7 separate regions of the Homo sapiens genome follow, and all the other regions are linked to region 2. Evidence: promoter capture Hi-C in 16 types of primary human blood cells and fetal thymus (Javierre and others, 2016). All regions are on one chromosome and are shown on one strand. Each heading gives the region's core, a stretch centred on a gene start or on the middle of the fragment in contact. The rest is flanking DNA. Distances are from core to core; before and after follow the strand shown. Region 1 has its middle 8.9 kb from the start of TCP11L2. Region 2 holds the start of MTERF2 (mitochondrial transcription termination factor 2). Region 3 has its middle 23 kb from the start of CKAP4. Region 4 overlaps TCP11L2 (t-complex 11 like 2). Region 5 overlaps TCP11L2 (t-complex 11 like 2). Region 6 overlaps POLR3B (RNA polymerase III subunit B). Region 7 overlaps PRDM4 (PR/SET domain 4).

Evidence for each region. The method cuts DNA at HindIII sites, captures the fragments that hold promoters and counts their contacts. A CHiCAGO score of 5 or more calls a contact.
Region 1: a contact is called between a fragment that was not itself captured here and the fragment with the promoter of MTERF2 in region 2, in 7 of 17 cell types (fetal thymus, activated CD4 T cells, naive CD4 T cells and 4 more). The highest score is 8.0, in fetal thymus.
Region 3: a fragment that was not itself captured here is called in contact with the fragment with the promoter of MTERF2 in region 2 in 2 of 17 cell types (naive CD8 T cells and total CD8 T cells); the score reaches 5.9 in naive CD8 T cells.
Region 4: a fragment that was not itself captured here is called in contact with the fragment with the promoter of MTERF2 in region 2 in 10 of 17 cell types (total CD4 T cells, total B cells, naive CD8 T cells and 7 more); the score reaches 9.6 in total CD4 T cells.
Region 5: a fragment that was not itself captured here is called in contact with the fragment with the promoter of MTERF2 in region 2 in 3 of 17 cell types (non-activated CD4 T cells, activated CD4 T cells and fetal thymus); the score reaches 7.4 in non-activated CD4 T cells.
Region 6: a fragment that was not itself captured here is called in contact with the fragment with the promoter of MTERF2 in region 2 in 11 of 17 cell types (naive CD8 T cells, total CD4 T cells, non-activated CD4 T cells and 8 more); the score reaches 11.5 in naive CD8 T cells.
Region 7: a fragment that was not itself captured here is called in contact with the fragment with the promoter of MTERF2 in region 2 in 4 of 17 cell types (activated CD4 T cells, non-activated CD4 T cells, naive CD4 T cells and 1 more); the score reaches 6.9 in activated CD4 T cells.

Annotation. Positions count from the first base shown.
Region 1 is chr12:106,291,761-106,295,987 of GRCh38, forward strand. No RefSeq gene overlaps it. Among named protein-coding and RNA genes, the nearest start is that of TCP11L2, 8.9 kb to the right of the region's middle. The HindIII fragment of the contact is 1,172 bases long and covers 2,164-3,335 here.
Region 2 is chr12:106,984,769-106,989,106 of GRCh38, forward strand. MTERF2 (mitochondrial transcription termination factor 2) reads right to left here and starts at 2,378. Exons shown (of 3, transcript NM_001033050.3): 1 at 2,201-2,378; 2 at 347-457. The HindIII fragment of the contact is 15,581 bases long and covers 1-3,862 here.
Region 3 is chr12:106,223,342-106,227,530 of GRCh38, forward strand. No RefSeq gene overlaps it. Among named protein-coding and RNA genes, the nearest start is that of CKAP4, 23 kb to the right of the region's middle. RefSeq lists an enhancer at 836-885 and a silencer at 936-1,045. The HindIII fragment of the contact is 4,033 bases long and covers 860-4,189 here.
Region 4 is chr12:106,334,476-106,338,212 of GRCh38, forward strand. TCP11L2 (t-complex 11 like 2) reads left to right here. Exons shown (of 10, transcript NM_152772.3): 7 at 1,164-1,351; 8 at 1,557-1,738. Among named protein-coding and RNA genes, the nearest start is that of POLR3B, 21 kb to the right of the region's middle. The HindIII fragment of the contact is 195 bases long and covers 1,854-2,048 here.
Region 5 is chr12:106,313,845-106,317,765 of GRCh38, forward strand. TCP11L2 (t-complex 11 like 2) reads left to right here. Exons shown (of 10, transcript NM_152772.3): 3 at 514-649. Among named protein-coding and RNA genes, the nearest start is that of TCP11L2, 13 kb to the left of the region's middle. The HindIII fragment of the contact is 735 bases long and covers 1,487-2,221 here.
Region 6 is chr12:106,374,562-106,378,549 of GRCh38, forward strand. POLR3B (RNA polymerase III subunit B) reads left to right here. Exons shown (of 28, transcript NM_018082.6): 7 at 1,798-1,889; 8 at 3,706-3,823. Among named protein-coding and RNA genes, the nearest start is that of POLR3B, 19 kb to the left of the region's middle. The HindIII fragment of the contact is 5,172 bases long and covers 1-3,988 here.
Region 7 is chr12:107,755,070-107,758,805 of GRCh38, forward strand. It overlaps PRDM4 (PR/SET domain 4), which reads right to left. Exons shown (of 12, transcript NM_012406.4): 3 at 1,763-1,896. PRDM4-AS1 (PRDM4 antisense RNA 1) reads left to right here. Exons shown (of 5, transcript NR_120474.1): 4 at 3,206-3,323. Among named protein-coding and RNA genes, the nearest start is that of PRDM4, 4.2 kb to the right of the region's middle. The HindIII fragment of the contact is 238 bases long and covers 2,231-2,468 here.

The DNA of each region.
Region 1 (4,227 bases), core at 1,500-3,999, 690 kb before region 2:
TCCCTTTGCAATTTAAGCAGAGAGAAGGGAATATATTTTCTTCTTAATTTTCACCATTAGCTCTCTGACCCCTCTGACTACCTTGTCTATTTCCTAATTTTCAGGCAAAGCAGAAAGAAAGAAAAAAGGAAAAAGGAAGTTATAGTCAAAGTTCGTCAGAGTTAACTTCCCTCCTAATCAGTGATTGTCCCTGCCAACTAACTTCCCGCACTCCCAGCCAGTATTTAGAAGTGTGTCTGTAACGTCCTCTTACCAATCAGTATATACAGCACTGAGAAACTACTATGTCACAGGCACCGTGCAAAATAACATAGATTAATTTAAAGATGGATATAGGCCCAGCACCGTGGCTCACACCTGTAATCCCAGCACTTTGGGAGGCCAAGGTGGGAGGATCACCTGAGGTCGGGAGTTCGAGACCAGCCTGGCCAATATAGTGAAACCCCATCTGTACTAAAAATACAAAAAATTAGCCAGGTGTGGTTGTGGGCACCTGTAATCGCAGCTACTCTGGAGGCTGAGGCAGGAGAATTGCTTGAACCCGGGAAGTGGAGGTTGCAGTGAGCCGAGATCGTGCCACTGCACTCTAGCCTGGGCACAACAGAGCAAGACTCCGTCTCAAATTAAAAAAATAAATAAATAAAAAATAAAGAAACAAAGATGGATATAAAGAGTTATTGTCTGAAAAAGGTTTTGGGGCAAACACGAGCAAGCATTGCTCACTGCAGGCTCCAATGCACAGGCAGAAGTATCTCCTATTCTCGTCACCCATGACCAAGAGGTGTATTTGGGTTAGGGCATAGCTGCATGTGCCTCAGATCTGTACTCCAGAAGAGGAACTCCCATACCTGTATTTTCCCCTTTTATGGAGCAAGTATGAGAACGACTTTGCCCAAAAGAGACATCGTGGTCTCAGCCATCAGGTAGTCTGAGAATAAGAGGCAGCTATTGAGGGGAGTGTTGGTAAACACTACCTGCCCAGCATCTGGAGACTTTAGGTGCTCAGGAGAAGTTTAATTTTTGCACAACCCCTCCTGCTAAAAGGAAAAAAAAAAAACCCTGAAACCCTTGTTAGTCCAAAGTCAGGCAATTAATTTGAGCCTCTGAGTTCAGCCTTCAGACAGTTAAATTGCTTGTATTCATGAGTAGAAGACATTCCTTGTGCCCAAGGAACAGTCTGAAGTGAGTGACTTTCATGTCCTCCAATAATTACAGGATATGTGTGATACATGCTGTACATTTAAAAGATTTCCTGAAGTCTGCTTTTTTGCATCTAGTCATGCATAGCAGATTTCATGGGTGAAAACAATGCTTGGGGCCCTACTTTTCTTCATGGAGATGGCAAAAATGCTTAAAGAGCTAGGTGAACCATGTAAATGAATGAAGTAGGCTACATATAAGAGGGGTGGGCTTGTGGCATTCAAATTCAAAGTCCACCTGTGGGCTGAAAGCCACTCATTGCAATGCCCTCTACATCAAGCTTATGGTTCAGCTTTGGACTCCTGAAGAAATGGCGCAGAACCATCTATGTAGATTTAGAAAGTGAATTGAGTTCCTCACCTCATTTGGCAAGAATGGTGAATTTCCCACAGTTCGCAGGTACCTGTGGTTCCAAAGTGAGCTGCCGTTTTTGAAAATTATAAAAGCAACACTGAAGCAGTTTAAACCAATCCAGATTTTTAGCTAAGTAGTTCCAATTTTCTTCCTTATCAGTTAAGCTCATATCAGCCTTATTTTTCAACAATGAATTTGACCTAAATACTGATTTAGGGGCCTGAATCTGTTTTGTTGAGATCACTTGAGAACTTCTTGTACATGTATCTGCTTGGCTACTCCTTTCTCTAGGAAGCCTACCTGGGGGTCGTCAGTTCTGGATTACATGCTCCTTCTATGTGGCCCCTTGGATTGACTTCTATTTGTCAAGGTATAATTTTCAACAAATTGAAAACATGACTTATATGAAACAGAACAAACACGGGCTTAAAAAAATATTTATTTCATCAATTAAAGAGTTAGCCAGTAAAATGGTAAAGTTGGTTTAAGGAATATTTGAGAAATAGGGGTTTATATATCCCATCAAGAAATGCATTTTTAAAAATCTTACAATAAGATTACTAGGTTAGACACAAAATTGGTTAATGTCTTATAAGGTAATAAATAGTAAGCTTTTATCTTTTCTATAGAACAGAAAAGATTTTACTTGTATTAGAAATGGACAAGAATAATTTGCATTGTTATCAATTTTTTGGTGTTTTGTTTTGGGTTTTGGTTTTCGGTTTTTTGACATAGGGTCTCTGTCACCCAGGCTAAACTGAGGTGCCATGATGATAGCTCACTGTAGCCTCGAACTCCTGGGCTCAAGGGACTCTCCCACTTTAGCTTCCTGATTAGCTGGGACTACAGCCACATGCCACCCTGCCCAGCTAAGTTTTGTATTTTTTTTGTAGATACAGGATCTCTCTATGTCGCCCAGGCTGGTCGCCAACTCCTAGCCTCAAGCAACCTGTCCATCTTGGCCTCCCAAAGTGTTGGGATGACAGGCGTGAGCCACTACACTGGGCCCTTGTTATCAGTTTTTGATAAAGTAACATCTGCCTTTACAAAGTTCTGGAATATCTGAACCAATAACGAGTAGTAAGTCCAACAAAGGTACACAGTCCTAGATAATGCATGAATCCTTGTACGAGTCTGCTACTACACTGCACTACACAGCACCCTACTAAAAGGACATCCAGTAATCCCTTTTGCCTATTTCCAAGTCTTTGGATAACGTTTGGATAATTATCCAAGTTTTTGGATCATTGTTCTTAACACAATATAAAGTTATATTATTTTCCTGAATGGATCTGACTTACTGGCCTAATGAGTGGAGAATAGTAATCCTCACATTGATATATAAATACTGGGTGATGTGTTAGGCTCATTTGTGAGGTAAATAAATGGCTCCTGTACCACCAACTTATTAGATTCAAATTTGCTCCTTGGCAGAATTTTAAATTATCGCATGTCACAGACCTTTAAGTTGCCCAGGACCTGTCGAAACTGTAAATATTAAATCATTAAAATAACAAGAGTATAATAATAGTAGTTACAGTTTACTGATCCATACAATGTCGCTGGCACTCTGCTCAACTCTTCATATACATTATTTCTTTTAATTCTCCCACAGGTTATGGAGTATTTGTTCTAGTCAAAGTTCTTAGTGGCAAATAATACACCTTAGTCTGACTAGACCAGAAGGGTCTTCGTAGCTCATGGAACTGAGACCAGAGGGTCTTGGTAGCTCATGGAATTAGCTATCGAGTGACTCTAACATATTTTAGACTGAAGAACCAAGCTTGGGAAAGAACTAAAGGAAGCCAGGCATAGCTAAGAACATGCTAAGGATGCCATAGCTGGTGTCATCAGCATTGGGCACCACCACTGTAGCTCTGTGAATCACCCCTATCTACCTGTGGTGGTCAGCATCTGACAGAACATGCGTAGGTCCCATGCCCATGCTACAGCCACCAGGGTCTGGGAAGACAGAATGCCTTTCCAGCTCCAGTAGTAAAGTATTAATGGGATTAGCATATCATCCCCTCTCTGGCTTCTATAATAAATGATAACAATTCAAATACCATTCGGAAAGCTGGATCACCAAAATGACAAATGGCCCCCACAACATTATTATCCCCATTTTATACCTGTGAGGATAAGGACATATGTATAATGAGTGGTGGAACTTGGCTGTCAACCCTCTGGTCTGTCTGAACCCAAAGCCCACCCTCTTTCCACCATACCACATTTCCTCATTATATACAATTATTTTGTACCTCAGTTGATTAATTCTTTGAAAATTTTGATCTACGTAATGCTTGTAACTTTTAAAAAGTCATTTTTTTAAACGTCCACATATCATCACAGAGGTCTTCCTTTAAATAAAGAATTCAGCTTCAGCATTAAAATTAAATTTATTTGTATAATTATGTTACACCGAGCATTTTTTTTTTTTTAGACTGAGTTTCACTCTGCCACCCAGGCAAAAGTGTAGTGGCGTGATCTTGGCTCACTGCAGCCTCTGCCTCCTGGGTTCAAGTGATTCTCCTGCCTCAGCCTCCCAAATAGCTGGGACTACAGGAGTGCGCCACCACGCCCAGCTAATTTTTTGTATTTTTAATAGAGACGGGGTTTCACCATGCTGACCAGGCTGGTCTTGAACTCCTGACCTCAGTTGATCCGCCCACC
Region 2 (4,338 bases), core at 1,128-3,627:
TTCACCTTCCGCCATGATTGTGAGGTCTCCCCAACCACGTGGCACTGTAAGTCCATTAAACCTCTTGCTTTTGTAAATTGCCCAGTCTTGGCTATGTCTTTATCAGCAGCATGAAAAAGGACTAATACAAGCCATGAGCCACCACACCCAGCCTTCCTTATCTCTTTTGACTTCTGCAGCTTTTAGCAGAGTTGACCACTTTCTCCTTGAAATATTCTCTCATTTGACTTCCTGGACACTCGACTTTTTTTGATTCTTCTCCCTTTCTATACTTCTCGCCACCCTCTATCTGTCTCCCATACAAGCTCACCTTCAAGGCTTGGTTCTAGACCTCTCTTCTTCTTACCTTACAGTCTCTCCCCACAGATCTTGTCCTCATCCAGATATTCAGTTCATCCACTTGGGATTCTTTCCAACTTCTTCTCAAAATGTGATCTTGTCAGTTCCCTGCAATAAACTTGCCAATGGCATTTTAGGATAAAGACAAAGTAAAATAAAACATAGAAATGCCTTACCATGGCCTACAAGGCCTCTTTGGGCTCTGCCACCACCCTAATTCCCATTTCCCTCTCCTGCACCAGCTGCATTTGCTTCCTGTCAGTCCCTGGTGCTCTACTGGTTTCTACCATGTGGTCTTTGAAGACTGTGGGCCAGATTCCATGCCCAAAATGCTCCAACTTTTAGGCCTAAGTGTCACTTTCTCAAGGAAACTTTTCTAACCTTCACGAATACATGAAGCCTCCTGTCCCCATTACATGATTTCATGGCACCATGGACTTTTACACTTGCGCACAAGTGGTACAACAGCTGCAGCTGTTCACGTGTTGTTTCTGTCTCAACACTACATGGACAGACTGGTCACCACAGTGTTCCAATGAACTGCTTCCCTATCCTTCACCCAGCTGCCTTCACTGCCTCTAGGAGGCATTCCTGGGCAGGTGGCCTTCTGTGTGCTCTTCCACAGCACCCTGCTCCGGACGCTACTGCAGCACTTATTATGCTCTTACAAGTTCTTCATTCTTCCAACCAGTAGGAATTTTGTTGCTGTTTGTTTGAAGTTCAAGCTGTGTATCAGGCATACTAGGCACAGATCTGCTAAAACAACACTTCTTCACACCTCTGTTTGGATCACAGATCAACTCAGAACCTGAGAGTCACAGACTCTCTTTCCAGAAGAAAAGACCCACGCTCACAACATTTCGCAAATGATTTTAGCAGGATTCATGGACACCCTGCAGCCCGGCCATGAATGACCTGCACTAGATTTACAAGCGTTGGGAAGGCAGGAACTGAACGGTGTTCTGCTTTATTCCCTGCACCCAGCAAAGAACTTGTTCCACAGAGAGACAAAATTAGTATTTGTCAGGTGAAACTGAGTGAACAAGTGGATGCGGTACATTAATGCAGTGGGTAAAACTGGGTTAGCAGAGCCAGACTGCCTGATTCCTGGACAACAGTTGTGTTGTGACTTGAAGAAGTTACTTCACCTCTCTGAGCCTCAGTTTGGCATCAGGAAAATGGTGATACTATCTCCTGGGTGACTGCAAAGATCAAACGAGTTAATACCATAAATCACTTAGAATATGCAGAAAACTCTTCACATATACTAAATCATTAAATCATCACAACAACTCATTTTAAAATGAGGAAACAGACGCAGGTAAAGGAACTTGCCCAAGGTTACTCAGCTAAAAAAAAAAACAAAAAACAAAAAACCGGCAGAATTTGGACTCAAACCCCACAGGTTGGCTCCAGAGTCCTGCCTGCTCTTAGCCCTGTGCCCCCACATATAGCAATGCTTTTGGTAAATGTTTGTTAAATCACAATGTGGGCTGTTCTAGGATGCTTGTTTCTTAAGCATTTTTGGGGAGTGAAATTCACTTCTGTAATACACAGTTATGGTTAGTATGGTCTTCTCTACACCACCACTGGTTTCAATAAAGTTCTTCTTTCGTAACACATATGCCCTGCTGCCAGTTTCAAATTGACCAACGTTTATAAGCAAGGAAAAACGAGGGTCCACGGAAGATCTCCAGGACCGATCAAAAGGCCGCACATTCACTGTGGGGCCTCCGCTTTTCCAGAGAAACCCGGCAGGCTGAGCTGAGCGTCTGGCGAGGCGTGGGGTTTTGCGGGCCCTGACCGCTGCGGCGCCGCTGGTGAGGAACACGCCCAGGAGCAGAGGAAGGGGGCGACTCACCCGTCGGCGTCAGCTCCAAGCAAGGCACAGGGAGTCCCGGGGGCCAGGCCCCGTCCTTCCCTCTCTCTCCGGCCAGCCTCCCCACAGTCCGCAGTCCCCGAGGCCTGGAGCCGGGATTTCGGTCCTCGGTCTCAAGAAGCTCCCGACAGTTCTCAGCAGCGCCAACCAGGCCATCAGTCCCTTCGCCCATGGCCAATCAGGGCTCGGGAGATGACCGCCAACCCCCGCCCCCCCAAGACACGCCCCCGCGTCCCAACGCAGCCAGTCAGAGCGCGGGACACAACTACGCGTCCCTCCCCGCACCACGAGGGCGAGTCGGAGTGGGAATCGGCTTTCCAGGCAGCCCAGCCTGTGCTGGCGGGGGCATCTGGCATTTTCACACCCTTTCCTTCCCAGCATTTTAGGAAGCGGAGTTCCAGTAGCTTTGACGCTTAGAAAATATAAGAAAAAAAAGAAGTAACAGAAACCGCTATATCTTTAAGATAGAGCCAATCACTGTTCCCAAAATAATTCAGTTAGGTAAAGAACCAACTTACAAAAGAAATGTTTAAAAAACCCCCAAAGTTCTTTGAAACACATCTGAACTCTTCCCCGCCCCCACCCTACCCCAGCAGTTAGCGACTGTCTTTAAAAGCCATTCTCCTTTCTCTCCCTCCTTGCCACCTTCACCTAAATACTCCCCTTTTCTGATAAACTGCCAAGTGGTTTCCATTCTAATTATTACCGGTGATGCCCAACCTCATACACTAAACACGTTAATTTCTCCTTAAAGCCAGGCTGAATGTCTCTCTCATTTATTTTCACATTTATCCATCCAAAAAACAAGTATTTATGGCAGGCCTGCTAAGTGCCAAGCATATTGAAACAGCAATGAGAAAATAGAGGGGGAATAAAACACATTCCCTGTCCTTATGGAGCTTACATTCTAGTGGAGGGCAGAGATATCAACAACTAATAACGTGACTAATCACACCTAGTTAAGTGTTATCGAGGACAGGGTGCCCTGAGCTGGGCCTGGTGATTCTGTTTGTGTGGAGTTGGAGTCAGGAAAACTGGTTTTCCCAGCTGGAGGTGTCTGCTGTCAGGTGTTCGTAGCACACTGTGCACAGTTCTGCCGTCGGTGGCACTGGCATACAGACTGCCCTCGCACCCTGTGGAGTGAATTCCTTGAGGCTACTGATTATTTTTTCTGTCAACAATGCTGGGCACACAGTAGGAACTCAGGAAATGTTAACTAAATCTTTGAGTCTAGTCTCACTATGCAGTTTAGGCTCAACAGGCTATATTGAGAGGAGCTCACACGTGCATTTAACTCCACTGAGTAGCAGCAAGAATCCTGGCTCCTCAAGATCACCCACCTCTGATCTCTAGGATATTCTAGAATGATCTGAGCAACTCATGTGTACAGCTGGGGGGTGTTTGTCCAGCAACTCCTGAGTTATCCGAATATAAAAACTCTATTATGCATAGATTTATTGCACACTTTTTCCTGAAATAAAATGATTTGGGGTCCAGACTAACCAAAGTGTGTCATTTGCACTTAGGAAAAGGAAATTAGGATACAGAAAAGGAAGTTAAGGAATGTAAACTCAGGACTTAGAACTGCAAGCTGCCATCACTGGTCAGGAGGGAGGGAGCAGAAATGTGCACCAGGGTGCTGGAAGCTTGTATTAGGGCTCCACGTAATTGTGCAAGGAATTACAATACATATGACCCCGTGCATTGTAATCAAAACTTGAAACTGACAAATCAGCTATGCCAACTGTATTAAATAAATGCTACTCAAAGTTTTTTCCAGCCCAAATATTTAAACAGTGCATTTCTAGGACCATATAATCAGAAAAAAAACCTTGAATGAAGAAAAGGGGAAAAGAACTTACAATTATGCATATTATGTACAAGAAAATTACAAACACATTTGAATTGTGAGAAGATCCTGAAATTTCTAGTATGTAAGAGATGCATTAAAAATACTGATAGACTTTTATATCTCAAATTTACTTATTTATTTTAAGCAAATATGAAAAACATAAGGACTTTGTACAGTTCATTCAAAACCCTGGTTCTCTCAATATAATTTTCCCAAGTTGTCAGTACAGTTTTTGGCAATAAGAATTGAAGAAGTATTTGCTGAATGA
Region 3 (4,189 bases), core at 1,626-4,125, 760 kb before region 2:
CACGGATGCAGGAATAGTCTGGAAAATGGGAAGTGAGGTAGGAGGGCCCTGAACAAGTCTCACCCACCCTATCCAGCGCTCACACTTCTGGTGCTGGCTTTGTGGTGCTAGGTGATTCTGGCAGGATCAGAGGCCAGTGGAGAAACAAATACCCAGAACCATCGAAAATACCCATTTGTCTCTTAATGACAAGCCCTTAGTCTTCCAGAGCACCCACTGAAATGACTCCAATGGAAAGAGACTCTGCCCAGAGTCAGAGGCTGGGAGGTGAGGGGACTGCCAATGGGGTTTCTGAAGCATAACAAGGCATGTTCGGTGGCCGCCTGAGCCAAGCCAGAAAGGGTTCGCCTGCTGACTTCACTTTTCATCTCTGCCAAGGAGCACCCAAGGCCACCACAGACTCTGCAGCAAGCCATTTCTGGAAGGCAGTTCCATCAAGAAAGAAAATAGGCTCTGCTTTTACAAAATGCAGAGATGGGCAAACCACCAGTGTGTGCTATCTGTAACTTTAATTGTTTCTTTGGGATTAAGCACTCCTCCAACAAGGGCAGGAGTGAGCTATAATGTCATGTTGGATTCCAGTCGACTTGGGGTGGTTTGACAGGCTGCCCAACCTGAGCATGTGACCCCAGGGGAGCTGTTTTAAGGCTTTTTTTTCCTCCTGCTGGATTCACTTAGACAGATTTTAGCCCCCAACAAAAGAAACTTTCCAGCCACACCCACCTCCTCCCCCAGCCCTTGCTTCTGGTTTCTTCCTTCTATAACCCACTTGGAATTCTTGGCTGATTCATTCCAGTTCTCTCCTGATGGGATTGCAGAATGTCAGAGCTAGAAGGGGCCATCAGGAAAAATTGGGCCAAGCTTCTTAACGGCAGGTCCCAGCTACTTCCATGCAGTCTGGCCTAGAACCTTCATCGGCTGCAGCTGCTCCCTCCCGGGCCGCTGCACTACAGTGCCCTCTTCTGGTAGTGGATGGCAATTGCCTCTGAGTGGCACCTGATTTTCAGGACTGTCCTGTGGCTCTGACATCTCCTCAGCATAGACTTTCTCTGCAGAGGGGCTCTAGGGGTTGAGTGTGTGGGCTGCCTCTCTGCAGATTTTACTCCCTCTCTCCTGTGCCCCTCCTTACCTCAGCAAGCCCCGGTTCCTTCCCGTGAAGGCTAGGAGGAAAGTAGCCATCTGCAGAAGAATCTGGGGAGGGACTGCCATGGTGGGCTTTAGTTCTTGGCTAGAAGAGCCTCTGTTCTCGGCAGGAGAAGCCAAATTGCACAAGAAAACCCAAAGATCTTCTTTGATGTACAAAGCCATGAAGTCACAGCCCTTAAAAGAGGTCGACAAAGAGCCCAAAGTTTCCATCAGGTTGACAATGTCCATGTAATTCATCTCACTCACTGCAAGGATCAAAACACCAAATGCTTCCAGGAGCCAGACAGGAGGCCTAAATGAATGGAGAAGCAGACACAAGTGAGTGGTGGGAAATGTGAGAATCTAGAGGCCACAGGCCCACCTGAAGACCTCACAATCAAACACAGGCCCACCTGAAGGCACTCACAATCAAACACAGGCCCACCTGAAGGCACTCACAATCAAACACAGGCCCACCTGAAGGCACTCACAATCAAACACAGGCCCACCTGAAGGCACTCACAATCAAACACAGGCCCACTTGAAGGCACTCACAATCAAACACAGGCCCACCTGAAGGCACTCATAATCAAAATTCCAAACTCAACGGGGCACAGTGGCTCATGCCTGTAATCCCAACACTTCAGCAGGCCGAGGTGCAAGGATTACTTGATCTGAGGAGTTTGATACCAGCCTAGGCAACATAGTGAGACCCCTGTCTCTATGAAAAGATCAAAACACGAGCCAGGTGTAGCGGTGTGCACCTGTGGTTCCAGCTACAAGAGAGGATTAAGCGGGAGGATCGCTTGAGCCCGGAGGGTCAAGGCTGCAAGTGAGCTATGATCATGCCACTGCACTCCAGCCTGGGCAATGGAGTAAGACCCTGTCAAAAAAAAAATTCTAAACTCACATTTTGCAGGCCAACAATAGAAGGGCTCATTTCACAAGCCTGGCATTTCAAATTCCCTGCATTTAGTCAATTTCTAAGTACTATTTATTGAGCACTTCACTGTCATGGCCACTGTTCTAAGCACCTCAGATGGAGTAAGCCTCACAACAACCCTATGAAGTAGGCACTATCATTAGCATCATTTGCATTTATAGGTGGGGAGACTGAGGCACGGAGCACTTAAGTAACTGTCCCGATGTCAGACAGATAGAATATGCCATGGCTGGGAACTCAAATAGTAAGGCTCAAAAACTCAACTTATCCAATTTCTTATCTTTTTTTTTTTTTTTTTTTTTGAGACAGGGTCTCACTTGGGCTAGAGGGCAGTGCTGCCGTCATGGGTCACTGCAGCCTTGACTTCCCAGGCTCAAGCAATCCTCCCACCTCAGCCTCCTGAATAGCTGGGTCTACAGACATGCATCACCACACCCGGCTAATTTTTATATTTTTTGTAGACATGGGGTTTTCCGCCATGTTGCCCAGGCTGGTCTCGAACTCCTGGGCTCAAGCAATCTGCCTGCCTTGTCCTCCCAAAGTGCTGGGATTACAGGCACAAGCCACTGCACCTGGCCAGAACCCAGTGTCTTAACCACCAGTACTATACACACAGTACAAGTACATAGTTGTATCCTGGGACATTATGGGAAGCTGATTTTATTACTATGGGAAAGGGAGTATGGTTTAACAGACAAAAAGCAGGCCTTATTAGAGACAAACAGAGTCCGAGTCCTGCTGCTACCACAGACTGCGTGCTCCCAGAGCAAATTAATGACCATTTCTTAGTGTCTGATCAGTAAATCAGAGACAACCACTTTTACTCCCTGGGATAATCGTCAGGGTAAGCGAGATGATAAATGTGTTCCACCTAAAGCATGACATCAAACACAAAACACAATTATGGGTGACTATTACTTAAGTGAAGGACTAAGCATCCAACATTTGACTTGCCTTATTTAAAGGGCGCCACTTGCACTTTTTTTTTTTTTTGTCCTTTTTGAAACAGAGTCTCACTCTGTTGCCCAGGCCGGAGTGCAGTGCTGTGATCTCAGCTCACAGCAACCTCCGCCTCCCAGGTTCAAGCGATTCTCCTGCCTCAGCCTCCCGAGTAGCTGGGATGACAGGCACGTGCCACCACGCCCAGCTAATTTTTTGTGTTTTTAGTAGAGATGGGGTTTCACCGTGTTAGCCAGGATGGTCTCGATCTCCGGACCTCGTGATCCGCCCACCTTGACCTCCCAAAGTGCTAGGATTACAGGCGTGAGCCACTGCGCACTTCTTAACTAGCTTGACATAGGAACGATAAAGGTCTTTCGGTATCTAAACTTCTACTAACAAAAGATTCATATTAAACAAAACCCTTTATTACCTAAGTTTTCAAAAGGGGCTAATTAGTAGGATAGTATACACATTACAAAAGCATTCATGTCACAGAGAAATACACACATAGGTCTTTTAAATAGTGGATTTCTCTGGTATTTTTAATGGTACAATTGGATTTTATCCCCTTTCTGGAACAAGAGCGAAAAATGAAGAAATCATTCCTGTGATCCCTGACTCTGACACTAGATGGCAATAAATTCTCACTTCAATTATGTTCTCTGGGTTCCTACTGCCACAGTCAGCTGATTTGGGGCTATTCCCCAGCTGAAAGTTCAGGGGCTTGAGCCGCTCTGGATTTTTTACTGGTGCATCCCGGCATCTTCTGAAAGTGAATAGTCTTCACATGAGGTTATCCAAGATGTCAGCCCGGCCCGGCCAACATTCCCCATTTCACCCCAATAAATGAGAAAACATTAATTGTGACCCAGTGTGTGCCGGCCCCCATGGGAGCTACAAACAGACCCTTGGTTAAGACAGAAGCCACCCTGGCCCCTAGAGATCTGCTCACTGTCTAGTCCTTTTTCCCTTAGGCCTCCTCCTGCCCACCCGAGGCTCCAAAAGACTCTTGTGCAATGGTTAAAGTCAAGGAAAGTTGGATCTGGAAGAGAACATGAAGATTACTTTATCTCCCCTCACTTTTCAGATGGGAAAACAGATGGAGGCCCAGAGAAGGAAAGTGAATTATCCTAGGCAGCACAGCCCGGCAGGCCAGCATTCGGACCAGAGTCCTGATTC
Region 4 (3,737 bases), core at 701-3,200, 650 kb before region 2:
CCCCTAAATATTTCTCACTTTTTCCCTCTTTACCCCTCACTTCCACTGCCCTTATCCATTCACTCTCTTGTTTGAACCACTGCAATAATTTACTCTCCCTCCACTAATTCAGTCTTTCTTTCCAAGCAATTTTTCTGACATACATATCTGATCATACAGGTTCCATGTTGAAAATAATATTATTCAGCCGGGCGCAGTGGCTCACGCCTGTAATCCCAACACTTTTGGGGGCCAAGGTGGGTGGATCATGAGGTCAGGAGATTGAGACCATCCTGGCCAACATGGTGAAACCCCATCTCTACTAAAAATACAAAAATTATCTGGGTGTGGTGGTGCACGCCTGTAGTCCCAGCTACTCAGGAGGCTGAGGCAGGAGAATCGCTTGAACATGGGAGGTGGAGGTTGCAGTGAGCTGAGATTGCCCCACTGCACTCCAGCCTGGGTGACAGAGTGAGACCCCGTCTTAAAAAAAAAGAAAAGAAAGAAAATAATATTATTCAAAACTCCCCATTCCCATCGCTGGTGTTTGTAACCTGGGGACTGTCAATCTGGTAAGAGAGAATGACAATTGTTTGTGGACATGTGCACGTGATTGTGCACATTCACTTTGGGAAAGGCATATCTCCAATTAGTTATTAAAAGTGGTCCAAGACCCAAAAATGTGTAATAATTATACTCTATTTTCTCTTCAGATTGTATAAATCTTTCACCTTTTACCAAAAATGTGTGAAAATTAATGCCTTTTCTCTAAATACCTTCTCTGCACAAACTCAAGGCTGGCTTCTAACCACCCATCCAATGCCATTTGCTACAACCCTCTTACCCCTAGTTCTTTATGGACCAGCAATACAGATTTGTTTGTGGCATCCAGAATGTGACATCTAGAATGTGCCATATGCTGTCTTTTCCAGAGCACTTACAGAGCTCTTCCTCTTAGATTCTTTCCTGGACAGCCTCTTTCCCACAATTACTAGCATTCATTGTACTCTGTTATAATTGTTAGTTTACAGGTCTGCCTTTCCATCTGGACTGTAAACTCCTTGCAGGGCATGGCTGTGTCTTCTCATTCATGCCCAGCACCCAACACAGCATCTGTCAAGTGGAATACACCAGTGAAGGGATCAATCAGCTGTAGAACAAATATGTGGCCTTTTCACTCTTAGGTGCTCTTGATCAGACTACAGAATGGATAAAAGAATCTGTAAATGAAGAATTATTTTCTCTTTCTGAGAGTGCTTTAACTCCTGGGGCCGAAAATACCTCCAAGCCAAGCCTGAGCCCTACTTTGGTGCTAAATAATAGTTACTTGAAACTGTTACAGTGGGATTATCAGAAAAAAGAATTACCAGAGGTGAGTGGTTTTGTTCTTCACCCAAATTTCCCAGTATTTTTATTCTTAAGTTCTAACTTTGAATCATCTGGTCTGTGTTTCATGTGGTTTAATGACTTTACAAAAATCAGATAAAAATGGGAATTTGGAAATGACATTGCCTGTTTTGTATTTTCATGCTATTGAGCTACCCTTTCTATTTTTATATTTTAAATAAATATGTTAGACACTTATGACAGATGGAGCACGTCTTCAGGAACTAACAGAAAAGCTGAATCAATTGAAAATTATTGCCTGCCTGTCCCTAATTACCAACAACATGGTGGGTGCTATTACAGGAGGCCTGCCTGAGCTTGCAAGCAGGTTAACAAGGATTTCAGCTGTTCTACTTGAAGGCATGAACAAAGAGTAAGTTCCAAATTTTTGCATCTGCTCCCTCTTGTATTAAGGCTCTGCATGTGTCTCAGAGAACAAGAATGACCTTGGACATCTGGATGTGAGATTCAGGACTGTGCTTTAGAGAAGCTTATCTTACACCTTTTTCTAGAATTTCCTTTAATATCTCTGAAGGCTTAGATGTCCTCTCATAGGAAGGGAGAGGTGTTTTCCATGACAAGTGCCAGGGTGAGTGTAGTATTTCCACTTACAATGAATGTGTACAACAGCTTTTCTTTGACAGTGCTTTGGAAAAAAACAAATGAAACACAGAAATCTGCCAAGCTTGATGTTTAGAATTGCGCAATTTTTTTTTTTTTTTTTTTTTTTTGAGACAGAATCTCGCTCTGTCACCAGGCTGGAGTGCAGTGGCGCAATCTCAGCTCACTGCAACCTCCGCCTCCCGGGTTCAAGCAATTCTTCTGCCTCAGCCTCCCAAGTAGCTGGGACTACAGGCATGCGCCGCCACGCCCAGCTAATTTTTGTATTTTTAGTAGAGACCGGGTTTCACCATGTTGGCCAGGATGGTCTCGATCTCTTGACCTCATGACTCACCCATCTCGGCCTCCCTAGAATTGTGCTATTGAAGAGGGCTTTCCTCCAGTTGTTCTGACTTCATCATTTTTCTGCAGTGAAATGTTTACTGACTTCACAAATCCACCTTGCTACGAAGTCTTCAGAAGTGCTGACAATTCTGCCCTTCAGAGATGTGACACAGTCCAGTGAAGATTTTGGTTTTTGCTAAATTTATCTCCAGTATTACACCTTCATGAATGCTAGAATCCCATTTAGATTTTGCATTTACATCATCCAATAGGAATTCCTATCTAAGTCAGAAATTCTTAGTCTTGGTGAATGGCCAGATGGTTCTATGGGTCTCTTATGGATCAGCTTCTGCTGGTTCCCCTTTCAGGTGTCTTCAGAGGCATGTCCTCTTTATTCCTGTAATTGAAGGGAAATGCACCTGTCTTCTCATCCTCCCACCTATTATTCAGAGAGCATATAAATTACTTGATGAAATCCTAGACTATTAAGAGCCAAAAGGAGCCCATGTAGTTACAGAATCCAACTTCTCATTTTGAACTGAAGCTTACAGATAGAATAGAATTTGCCTTGGGCTGCAAACAGAAAAGGGCAGACCAAGGACTGAGCCCTGATCTGACCTTTCTCCTGATTCTGATGCTCATTAATATTCCAGGACCAAGACCTATAATGAAAGGAAACCTCTGATTTTGCAGTTGGTCTTATCTTATGATTTCCCTGCATGGGTAGTCATTACTTTCCAGAAACTTTTATTTATTAAGCCTTTAGGGAATACCCAGTGCTGCTGAAATGTTATTATAAAGTATACAGAAAGTGGTTACTAAGAAGACAGGCTTTCGGGTCAGATGGACCAGGGTTTAAATCCCAGCTCTGCTACTGACTTATTATGAACACTTGAATATGTTCTCAAATTACTATGAGCCTGACTTCCTCACTTGTAAGAAGGGAATAATAATTGTATTAATATCTACCTTGGAGTTGTGAGAACTTAAGATGATTCAGGTACAGATGTGTGGCACGTAATATGTACTCAATGAATGCTAGCTATTAATAACTAGTCATTAAATCATCCTCTTTATAATTGTATCTGGTTGTTTATCTGGTTGTTTCATTGTTTAAATTTTTTTCCTGTGTTAGGAAATCAATACAATCAATTCTCAATTATCCTCATTACGGATGGGGCAATAGCATTCATAGTATTAAAAAAAGGGATAGTACTAAATAATAGACCAAGATGTCATTTATATTGGGTTTGATGATGCATCTTGAAAACTAGAAGGAGTTTTTCCCTCTTCATTGTGAGTAGAAGGCATGGCTTATGCTAAGACAACTTTTTTTGAAGAGCTGAAAGAGGATTTATTGATTAATTGATTTTTGCTTTTTTTCCCTTTTTCAACTTTTATTTTAGGTGTAGGGGCACATGTACAGG
Region 5 (3,921 bases), core at 604-3,103, 670 kb before region 2:
AAGCTCCTCCTCCTGGGTTCACGCCATTCTCCTGCCTCAGCCTTCCGAGTAGCTGGGACTACAGGTGCCCGCCACCATGCCCGGCTAATTTTTTTGTATTTTTAGTAGAGACGGGGTTTCACCGTGTTAACCAGGATGGTCTTGATCTCCTGACCTCATGATCTACCTGCCTCGGCCTCCCAAAGTGTTGGGATTACAGGCGTGAGCCACTGCGCCTGGCCTGGTAATTTAATTTTTAAAAGTAACTTATAATGGGCCTATATTAATAAGTTGGTCTCATAAATATTTGAGACAATGTTATCAAATATGGTAACTGAAGCTATTGAAGGAGTTCTTAAATTTTTGAAGCCTTTATTAACTGAGGGAATTCACCTATTTTAATATATAGTCTCCTGACCTATAAAACTCTGAAGTATATACATTCTGATAAATTAAACCTTATCTGCATCAGGAGGCTTCGTTGGATGACAACTTTTCTTCTGCAACATTAACTGGCTTTTGTTTTTCTTTCAGCAACAAGCCCTCCAAGGGTTGTAACATTTGATGAAGTGATGGCTACAGCAAGGAACTTATCAAACTTGACTCTTGCTCATGAGATTGCTGTAAATGAGAACTTTCAATTGAAACAAGAGGCTCTCCCAGAAAAGAGGTAACCTGGGGGCATTTGTTGTATATAAACTGCTGAAGATTCTGTGTGTGTGTGTGTGTGTGTGTGTGTGTGTGTGTGTGTGTGAGAGAGAGAGAGAGAGAGAGAGAGACAGAGAGAGAGATAGACACATATTTACACTGATTCCTGGAAGTTCTTGTATAATATCCTCAGGGGTAAACATTTAGTTCTCTAACAAGGTCTTATACTTGTTTTAAAAAAATTCTCGCTGGGTGTGATAGCTCACACCTGTAACCCCATCACTTTGGGAGGTGGAGGCGGGAGGATTCCTTGAAGCCAGGAGTTTGAGACTGGCCTGGGCAGCAAAGCAAGACCCCATCTCTGTAAAAAATAAAAATAAAAATATTATCCAGCATGGTGGCATGAGCCTGTAATTACAGGTACCGGGGAGGCTGAGTCAAGAAGATCATTTGAGCCCAGGAGTTCAGGGACTGCAGTGAGCTCTCATCATGCCACTACACTCCAGCCTGGGTGACAGAGCAAGACCCTGTCTCAAAAAAAAAAAAAAAAAATTCCTGTTTGTGACCAGCCCGGCCAACGTGGTGAAACCTCACCTCTACTAAAAACACAAAAATTAGCCGGCCATGGTGGTGGGGCGCGTGTAATCCCAGCTACTTGGGAGGCTGAGGCAGGAGAATTGCGTGAACCCAGGAGGTGGAGGTTTCAGTGAGCCGAGATCGCACCACTGCACTACAGCCTGCGCAACAGAGTACTCCGTCTCAAAAAACAAAAACAAAAACAAACAAACAAAAAAATTCCCCTAGGATACATATTACCCATAATCTTTAGAACTCAGTTTATATGTCACTTCCTGAGGGAAGCTTTTTCTGACATTGGTGAACCCCCTAGACTACAATTAATCCCTTTGCTACAGACACCTGTAGCCCTTGCTGCCTCCTTTTTGTTAAGAGGTCTTATAATTTTATGTTTGATGTCCATCTTCCCCACTTGATTGAAATGCACTATTTATGGAGGAGCTATGTCTGTATTGTTTGTTGCTGTATCCCTATTGTCTAGCATAGTGCCTGACATACAGTACAGGCTCAAGACATATTTGCACATTGATTTATGGAAAACTGATACTCAGGTTCTGAAGAATAAATAAATGCACCTGAACTGTCAAAGTGCTAAAAGCAGGCAATCCAGAAATGTCTGGAGGTAGGAATCACAGCTGCAAGAGGCACTTCCTGGTTAACCTCGCCCTCCGACCTCTAGTTGGAGCCACCCCTTTGGATCCTACTTCAGCCTTTCTGGAGTCAGTGGCTCACAGGTTTCCTGAGACAAAGAGAAGAGGCTTGAGACTATTATTACAGATCAGTCGTCTTTAGAAGCAAAGTTGGTTCGTGGATTGAATTTTCAACCTTACAGTACCAATTATAAATCCTGAGGCATTCTATCAGTTAAGACAACTTAGAATATTTGATCCCATTCAGAACTTTTTCATTTGTTTTAAAGCAGGAAAAGTAAAGGAAGTCAATGTAATAACTCTTCTTCTTTAAAATGTGGATCATAGTCCTCTTGGGGATGTTGTTCATTTAATATTAACATTTTTTAAGCTTGCCATGTATCGTGGGTGTATCTGTTTGGTTTCCTTTGGTAACTTGCATTTTGCCATGACCCTTGATACCAGCTCTACTGCTACAGCCCTAGGCTAGGCCACCGTCATCTGTGGCCTGGACCCTTTCAGTCCTAACTGGTTGCCGTGTCTCCTTTCTTAGCCCCCAACAGTTCATCTTCCATATCCAGTAGCCTTAATGATGTTTTTAAAGAATGAGCTATATTAGATGATTTCTTTGCCAAAAACTCTTCAATGGTTTTCACTTACTCAGAGACCAAAAATCTAAGCATTTTCCTATGGCCTGGATGGCCCCACTCCCCTGACCCCATCTCAGTGCTGTCCCTCCTGCTTGCTGTGCTTCAGCCACACTGGCTTCCTTCCTTACCTCAGGGTTCACCAATCTGGATCTTGTCTCATAAACTTTGTTCCTCTGACTTCTTCTTTTTGAATGTTCTTTTCCCAGACCTTCACATGGCTCTTTGCTCTCCCCTTCTGAGTCTGAACACAAAGGTCACTGACTTAAAGAGGCTTTTTCCCACCATCCAGTGAAATCAGCACCCTCTCTGTAACTGTGTACCACATTGTCTTATTCTTTCTCATAGGTCTGAAATTGTCGTATTCATTTTTAATGTATTTTTTGCCTTTTTGTCCCTGCTAACATATAAGCTTTTTGAGGTCAGAGACTTTCTTTTCACTGTAGTATTCCCAGTTCCTAAAACAGGGCCCTACACATATTGGATGTTTAATAAACATTTATTGACTAATACAAATGAATTTTTTGAGATGGAGTCTTGTTTTAAAGTTAAAATTTGTATTTTTTATGAGGTAAAGCAAAAGACAGGGCATATCTGTACTTTAAATTCAAAAGTGGCGAGTACAGGCCATAGTGAAGGCATTTTAGGCTCAGACAGACTGTGGGGTTTGAATCCTGGCTTTGCTGAGACCATACCTGAACCTCACACTTCCCAAGAATAAGAAGGGGGCTACACTACTCACTTCAAATGCATACTCACTAGCATAAAAGTGCCTTGCACATAAATACTTTGATACTATGGAAAATATTAATCTCTCTTCCCTTCAGTTTCTGCCATGGCTAGAAAATGTGAGCAAGGGAAACAAAGTACAGAGTTAGGACACATTGCCTTTGTTTAAAGATAAAGTCTTAGCCGGGCGCAGTGGCTCACACCTGTAATCCCAGCACTTTGGGAGGCTGAGGTGAGCAGATCACCTGAGGTCAGGAGTTTAAGACCAGCCTGCCCGACGTGGTGAAACCCTGTCTCTACTAAAAGTACAAAAATTAGCTGGGTGTGGCAGTGCATGCCTGTAATCCCAGCTACTTGGGAGGCTGAGGCATGAGAATCACTTGAACCTGGGAGGCGGAGGCCGCAGTAAGCTGAGACTGCGCCACTGCACTGCAGCCTGGGCGACAGAGTGAGACTCTGTCTCAGAAAAAAAGAGATATACTTATCAAATTATGAATTCATTCACCATGCATGCATTTGTTAAGCAGTCACTATATATCAGGCACTGTACTAGGCACAATGGTAAGTACCTACCTGGAGGACTTATGGCCTCTGCTTAGGAAAGGTATATAGCTCTGTGGGGAAAGAGCCTCGTCAGTAATTACAGTGGAGGGACATGTGGTTTTCTAAAAACTATTGCTAAATGGTAGAGAAGTTAGGTAGGAATGTGTATT
Region 6 (3,988 bases), core at 920-3,419, 610 kb before region 2:
TGGAGTGCAGTGGTGTGATCTTGGCTCACTGCAACCTCCGCCTCCCAGGTACAAGTGATTCTCCTGCCCCAGCCTCCTGAGTAGCTGGGACTATAGGCGCACGCCACCACGCCCAGCCAATATTTTTTGTATTTTTAGTAGAGATGGGGTTTCACCACGTTGACCAGGATGGTCTCGATCCCTTGACCTTGTGATCCACTTGCCTTGGCCTCCTATAGTGCTGGGATTACAGGCGTGAGCCACCGCACCTGGCCTCCTTGGCATGTTTTTTTCACCTATAAATTAGAAATTGTTATTGTCTTATGAAGTTCGCATTTGTTTATATCCACACACATTAGTTTCCATTTTCTTTGCTCACCATACATTTTTACACGTCAGACTTTTGGTTAGTGTTTATTTTCCGTCTTCCTGAAGATGAATTTTTTTTAGAAATTTATTTAGTGAGGGCCTATTAGTACATTAGTAACTTCTCTCAGTTTTTGTCTGAAAATATCTTTATGTTGACCTCATTCTGAGTGAATACGTAGCAGAATACACAAATCGAGGTTGGCAGTTATTTTCTCTTCAAGCACATTGGTTGTGTGCTTGACACACACTTCGAGCACACTGCTCTGTGTCATTGGTTGTTGTGAAGTTATTGTGCATCCAGTCATCCTTCCCTTTTTGGTAGCCTCTCTTTTTTTCTGGCTGGGTTTTAAACCTTATCTCTAATTTTGGTGTTTAGTATCTTGACTGTGATCTGCTTAGGTGTAGCTTTCTTTTTATCTTGTGCAGATGTTACCGTGAGGATTTATGGCTTTCATATGTCTTTAAAAATTTATGGCTCTTATCTCTTTGAATAGGACTTCTCACCTATTCTGTGTATTTTCGCCATCTAGAAGTCTGATTAGGTGTTGATTAGTCGCTCTCTCTCTATCCTTCCCTGACTCTTAAACTCTCTTTCATATCTTCCATCTCTACGTCTTTCTGAAATTCATTCTCAGTAATTTCTTCAGATGTCTTTTCCAGCCCAGTAATTATATCTTCAGCAGTATCAAAGCTATTATTATCCAACCTATTTCTACATTTTTAAGTTAGTGCTTAAAATTTCCATTTCTAGTACATTTTGCTCAGTTCTTTTTCCAGACTGCCTGGTTAGTTTTCATAGCCTCTTGTTCCTTACACTTGGATGCATTGTGCTATTGCCAAGTAACTGATGAGAATCACTTTGTCTTCCATGAAGGAAGTGTTGCTGTCATTTCTGACTCTCACTAAAGCCTGTATGCAAAGTTTAAACCAAACATTTGAGTTTTTTGTTTTTTTGTTTTGTTTTTTGAGACAGAGCCTCACTCTGGAGTGCAGTGGTGTGATCCTGGCTCACGGCAGCTTCCACCTCCAAGTTCAAGCGATTCTCCTGTCTCAGCCTCCTGAGTAGCTGGGACTACCGGCACACACCACCACACCCAGTTAATTTTTTGTATTTTTAGTAGAGATGGAGTTCCACCATGTTGGCCAGGCTGCTCTCAAACTCCTGGCCTCATGTGATCCACCCACCTTGGCCTCCCAAAGTGCTGGGATTATAGGCATGAGCCACTGCACCCAGCCTGAGTTTTTATCATCTGTACTAGACGAGCAGCGTGCCTGAGAAAATACTTCATTTTGCTTGGCTTCCATGTAATTGCTATTTCTCTGCCTTTTCTAACATGGTGCATAGATAGACCCTTAGTGAGGTGGTGTGCACTGCATGTTTTGTATTTTTTGCAGCTTTTATCATTGACAGCCTACATGTGATATTTTCTTTTGTTTTATTTTATACAGAATGCCCATAATGCTACGTAGTTCAAACTGTGTTCTTACAGGAAAAACGCCAGCAGAATTTGCCAAACTGAACGAATGTCCCTTAGATCCAGGTATGTGTGAAGTCTTGGATTTGTCCCACTTTCCTTATTCTTTTATTCTGCTGCTGCTGTGGTTTTAACATTTTGTCTCAAAAACAGTACCAGCTTTTCTACTTTATAATGAACTTGTTCACAAAACACCCAGAAATTTGTCTCTAGCTTTATGCTACTAGTCTGTATTTCTTTCTTTCTTTTTTGAGATAGTGTCTCACTCTGTCATCTAAGCTGGAGTGCAGTGGTGTGATCTCAGCTCACTGCAACCTCTGCCTCCCAGGCTCAAGCAATCCTCCCACCTCAGCTTCCCAAATAGATGGGACTACAGGCTTGTGCCACCATACCCAGCTCATTTTTGTATTTTTAGTAGAGATGGTGTTTTGCTATGTCATCCTGGCTGATCTCCTGGACTCATCCACCTTGGCCTCCCAAAGTGCTGGGATTACAGGCGTGAACCACTGCGCCTAGCCCTATTAGTCTATATTTCTCAAAGACATACTGTTTCCTCTTTTATTTCAGGCTTAAGACTTTAATATGACACATTCTTGTTTATTGCCATGATTTGTCAGTCTTTTCTTTCTATCTTTGCCCACGAGTTTCTTTTGGTATGCCTAAAAATTCAAGAATAATCTTCCAGAGTTACTGGCCTTGCCTGGTTGAAAAAAATCAAGTATCACACTTCAGGGTGTTTTAAATGCAGTAAAGCAGTAGGGAGATGAAAGTATTTTTTTGTTTACATTTTTAAAAATTTTATTTTTGTACCTATTTCTAGGCAATTTCTTTTGTAAAATTTCAAACTTAGAACTTAACAAAAAGTTTCTCTTAGTTCTTTAACTCGTATTTCACATTGATTTATTTGAACTTATAGTTGCTTTAATCTTATTCCTGTAAAGTTGCATTGTTTTAGAATCCCAGAAGTTTTGGAAAGAAGTTAATGAAGAATGTGACTTTACTAGACTATAACAGAATGTTGCATAAGTCAAATATGTTGTATTGTTTTTGCTTATATTCTGCAGGTATAAAATGAAGTATTACTTTATCCTACTCTGAATTGTGTGCAAAAAAAATACATGATGATGCATGAGTTTTTTTGAATATGGAATATTATTTTGGAAACCTAATCTTAATCTACCATTACCACTGATTTGTTAGAAAACTTAGAGTAAATTTGAGCTTATATTGAAAATTGTCAGTTACACTTGTACTTAAGAGCTCTGACAACTAATTTATTTAACTATTTTTTTCATTCACTTTTTACATATGTCAGGGGCGGGTGATTCATAGACCAATAAGATACATTTCCTGTCCTCAAGAAATTTTTTATCTTGTAGCTCATTTGTATAAAATCACGTGCTGATCTTCAGTCCATAAAACAATATCAGATGGGCGCAATGGCTCTTGCCTGTAATCCCAGTGCACTGAGAGGCTGAGGCGGGAGGATGGCTTAAGACAGGGAGTCAGCCTGAGAAGCATAGTGAGACCCTGTTGTTACAAAAAATTTAAAAATTAGCTACGTGTGGTGGCACATGCCTCTAGTCCTAGCTACTCGGGAGACTGGGGCGGGCGAATCACTTGAGGTTAGCAGTCCGAGGTTGCAGTGAGCTATGATTGTGCCACTGCACTCCAGCCTCGGCGACAAAGGGAGATCCTTTCTCAAAAAATAAAATAAAATAAAATAAAAAATAAAATCAGCAACCCCTTTGAATCAAGTGTTAGCCAGTGCCATGAAGCAGTAGTAGAAAAGGTAATCTCTGATTCACAAGATTCCTGCCATTACTAAATCAACACTGGTTGAGGAATAAATGATGAAGTTTTTCTTGTTTCCTTTGGGTAGGTGGCTACTTCATTGTTAAAGGAGTAGAAAAAGTTATTCTTATCCAAGAGCAGCTGTCTAAGAACAGGATCATCGTGGAGGCTGATAGAAAAGGGGCTGTTGGAGCTTCAGTTACCAGGTATGGAAAGCAGAGATGGTGTCCTTAAGCAATATTGGTCATTCCATTAGTCCTAAATGGCTATGTTTCAATACAGAGGGAGCCAGTTATTACCCTCTAAAAGCAGGCATTGTAATATTTAAGCTATCTGCATTCAATTTATTATGAAAGTCTGGAAGCATAGGG
Region 7 (3,736 bases), core at 1,100-3,599, 770 kb after region 2:
ATATTTTTGCCAGGGGCAATATTTTTTTTTTTTGAGACAAGGTTTTGCTATGTTGCCCAGGTTGGAGCGTAGTAGCATGACCATGGCTCAGGCAACCTGAGCTTTCCTGGCTCAAGTGGCCATCCCTTCTCAGCCTCCTATGTAGCTCCTACGTAGCTGGGACTACGGGTGTGTGCCACCATGCGCTGCTAATTTTTTTTTTTTTCTTTGTAGAGATGGGGTCTCCTTATGTTACCTAGGCTGATCTTGAACTCCTGGGCTCAAGTGATCCTCCTGCCTTGGCCTCTCAAAATGCTGGGATTATAGGCGTGAGCCACTGTGCCTGGCTGGCAATATTTTTTAACAGGCTTTTCCACCTTAACAAGAGTGTCCACTAAAGGGAATGCCTACAAACAATCAAGTGGGTTAACCACTAATAATTTTTTAAGATTTCTTTTGTGGACACTTAAACAAATGTGAAGAGACCCTAGTTTCAATGAATCTTATTTAACTGCTGCATTTTATTAATTAAGCAAGTAATTCTCTTTAGAGAACTATTTAAACAATATATAGATTTATTTATACTAACTCCTACTGTGACAAAGAAAGTCCAATACATAACAATGTCATTGATCCTAAAGAACTGACAGCTTATCATTGTAATAATCAATAGAATATTTATTCCATTTATATTCTATTTCAATAGAATAAGAAAATGAAGCTAGGCAGAAAAAAGGTTTTAAAAGTACAGTGACGGCTGGCGCGGTGGCTCACACCTAAAATCCCAGCACTCTGGGAGGCCGAGGAGGGCGGATCACCTGAGGGCAGGAGTTCGAGACCAGCCTGGCTAATATGGTGAAACCCCGTTTCTACTAAAAATACAAAAAATTAGTTGAGCATGGTGGCGTGTGCCTGTAGTCTCAGCTACTCGGGATGCTGAGGCAGGAGAATTGCTTGAACCCGGGAGGCGGGCGGAGGTTGCAGTGAGCCGAGATCGTGCCATTGCACTCCACCTTGGTCGACAAGAGCGAAACTCCATCTCAAAAAAGAAAAAAAAGAAAATGAGCCAGGTGTAGGGGTGCATGCCTATAATCCTAGCTACTCAGGAGGCTGAAGCAGGAGAATCACTTGAACCCGGGAGGCGGAGGTTGCAGTGAGCCGAGATCGTGCCCCTGCACTCCAGCCTGGATGACAGAGTGAGACTCCATTTCAAAAAAAAAAGGATAGGAAGAATGAATTTTTCCTATACGATTTTGCTGTGTATGGAGGCTCATGAGGCGTTCCATGTAAAAGCCCCAGGTAAAAGTACCACACTTCTTTCCACATTAATTCTAGACCTGGTACACTTGCAGTTATTGCCATTTAATTTCAAACCTGGTGGAATATAAAGCCCAATTCCCCATGCTCTCTGGGAATAGTTATTAGAGTAATTTTAACTGATTCTCTTCTATTAACCCAGGGAACGGGTACTGAAGTGTGAACCAGATGAATGGGCAGCCCTAAATAAAATGCCAAGTTAATTACAGCTCTGGACAAAAAGCTACCAACTCAGAAGAGGACTATCAGAAAAAATTGCTGCTACTATCCACTAGAATTCTAATACTCTACCTCTACAAAAACCTTATTTTCCATTACCTATCACATGTTGAACCACCATTCAGGCCTGCTTACCTTCTCCCTTCTACCTTCTACCCTTAAAGGGGCTCTGATCTCTTCTAGACTCCATTTAGAATTGATAACAGAGTTAAGTGTTGAAATGCAGTAGGTCTCCCTTACCACTCACCTGGGGCAGGGATGGCACTGTGAGTGGGTGAGGCAGCCAATCCCAGGTGACTTCCTGAGACTGGCAAGGCATTGCTCACAGAGGATGAAGTCAGCTGCTCCATCCCCACTGGACTCAGGTTCATTTCATTCATCCTAGAAAAGAGCACACACAACTAGTTATGCAAAAATTTACTCCAATGACTCTGTATTAAGATACTGAAGAAACTGAAACAGTGGGGATGGGGAAATGGGACTTGGCCAACTATTAGTTCACTTTTACGCTCAACAATTCTCTTAGATAGCTAGTGCCATATTCTTTCTACTGATAAGAAAACTGAGATTGAGACATTAAAAACTCAATTCAATGTCACATAGCAGAAATAGGATTTGAATTCTGCCTTGTTCGAAACTCTAGGCACACCATCTAAAGCAAAGTCTGCAATTCTTAGAGCACAATGGCAATGACAGTTTTTTTTTAAATCACTCAAGCTTCATCTTTTATAATATTTATTTTTCTCCAAATGGCTTATTATTTCAAACCAGTAGTGTTTTAGGCAGCGCATTTTAACCTACTCAAGTAAATTTTACTAATCATTTTTAATAGGAGTTAAAGATCCAGATTATCGATGATGTGAAAAGCATCGTATTTTCCCCATTCAGCAACAGTTTACTAAGATTCTGTATCAGTATATTAATGTCCTCCAAATATTGAGGGTCATTATGTAAGCTTTGCTACCACTTCACTTAAAATGACTTCAAATCCTCACACCAATACTGCAACGTAAGATAGATGAGGGAACTATGGCTCAGAGAGGCCATGTCATATGCCCCAAATCACATAGCTATTAAGTGAAAGATCACAGATCAAACTGCAAAACACTGCCAAAAAGTTTTTCATTGCACCAAACTTTTTTTTAACTGCACCAAACTTTTTTTTTAACTACAGACTATTTTTGGCAAGGTGAAGAACCTAGGAATCACCTTTTCTATGCAAACCATCTTGCACTGCCATTACAAATGTCTTTCGAATAAGAGTAATACTGATTTGAATAAAACAGCACTGAAGGTTGTTATCAAAAAGTATTAGTTCTTATATCATAATTTAGAGACTGCCATACTATAAACATTACAGAACCACTAGGCTAGCCAACAGGTTACCCAAAAGGGGCTCTCTAATGACCTCCAGTCCTTACACTGGGCTTTATTCTCTGCGTATGGGAGGGGGTGAAGCAGAGAAGAGGAATCAAATGAGGTTACATATTCCTTAGCAGTGAAATCAAATCTAAATAGGTTTTTAATTCTGAAAAATGGCAATGCCATTTTATCAATCAACCTGAAAATAATAATAGCTAAAATTTATGGCTCCCTTACCATGTGCTATGTATTGGGCTAAGTGATTTATATGTAACTATCTCTCTTAATCTTCTTTTTTTTTTTTTTTTTTTTTTTGTTTTTGAGACAGGGTCTTGCTCAGTAGCTGCAAGCTGGAGTGCAGTGGCGTGATCACAGCTGACTGCTGCCTCTACCTCCTAGGCTCATGAGATCTTCCCACCTCAGCCCCCAAGCAGCTGGGACCACAGGCAAGTGCCACCATGCCTGGCTAATTTGTTTTTATTTTGCAGAGATGGGGTCTCCCTATGTTGCCCAGGCTGGAGGTAGGTATTATTCTTAATCCCACTTTAAAGATGAGGAAACTTAAGATTCAATGATGCTAGGAAACTTAACCCAGAATCACATAACCAGTAAGGAGAGCTGGGATTTAAATTCAGAACTAATTTAAGAAACCAAAGCTCTTAACTATAGTAAGAAAAAGACAATTACAATAAAAGAACTATATTGCCTTTTACACAGTTGCAATACATTAGGGCCTATCTACTTATATTGTGGCGTATATTTAAAGTTCCACATAGACCTGTTTCTTGCATTATTAGGTTTCACCCTTATCCCTGGCCATGGATCCCATAAAACTAAGCTCTAAGACATCAATAAAATG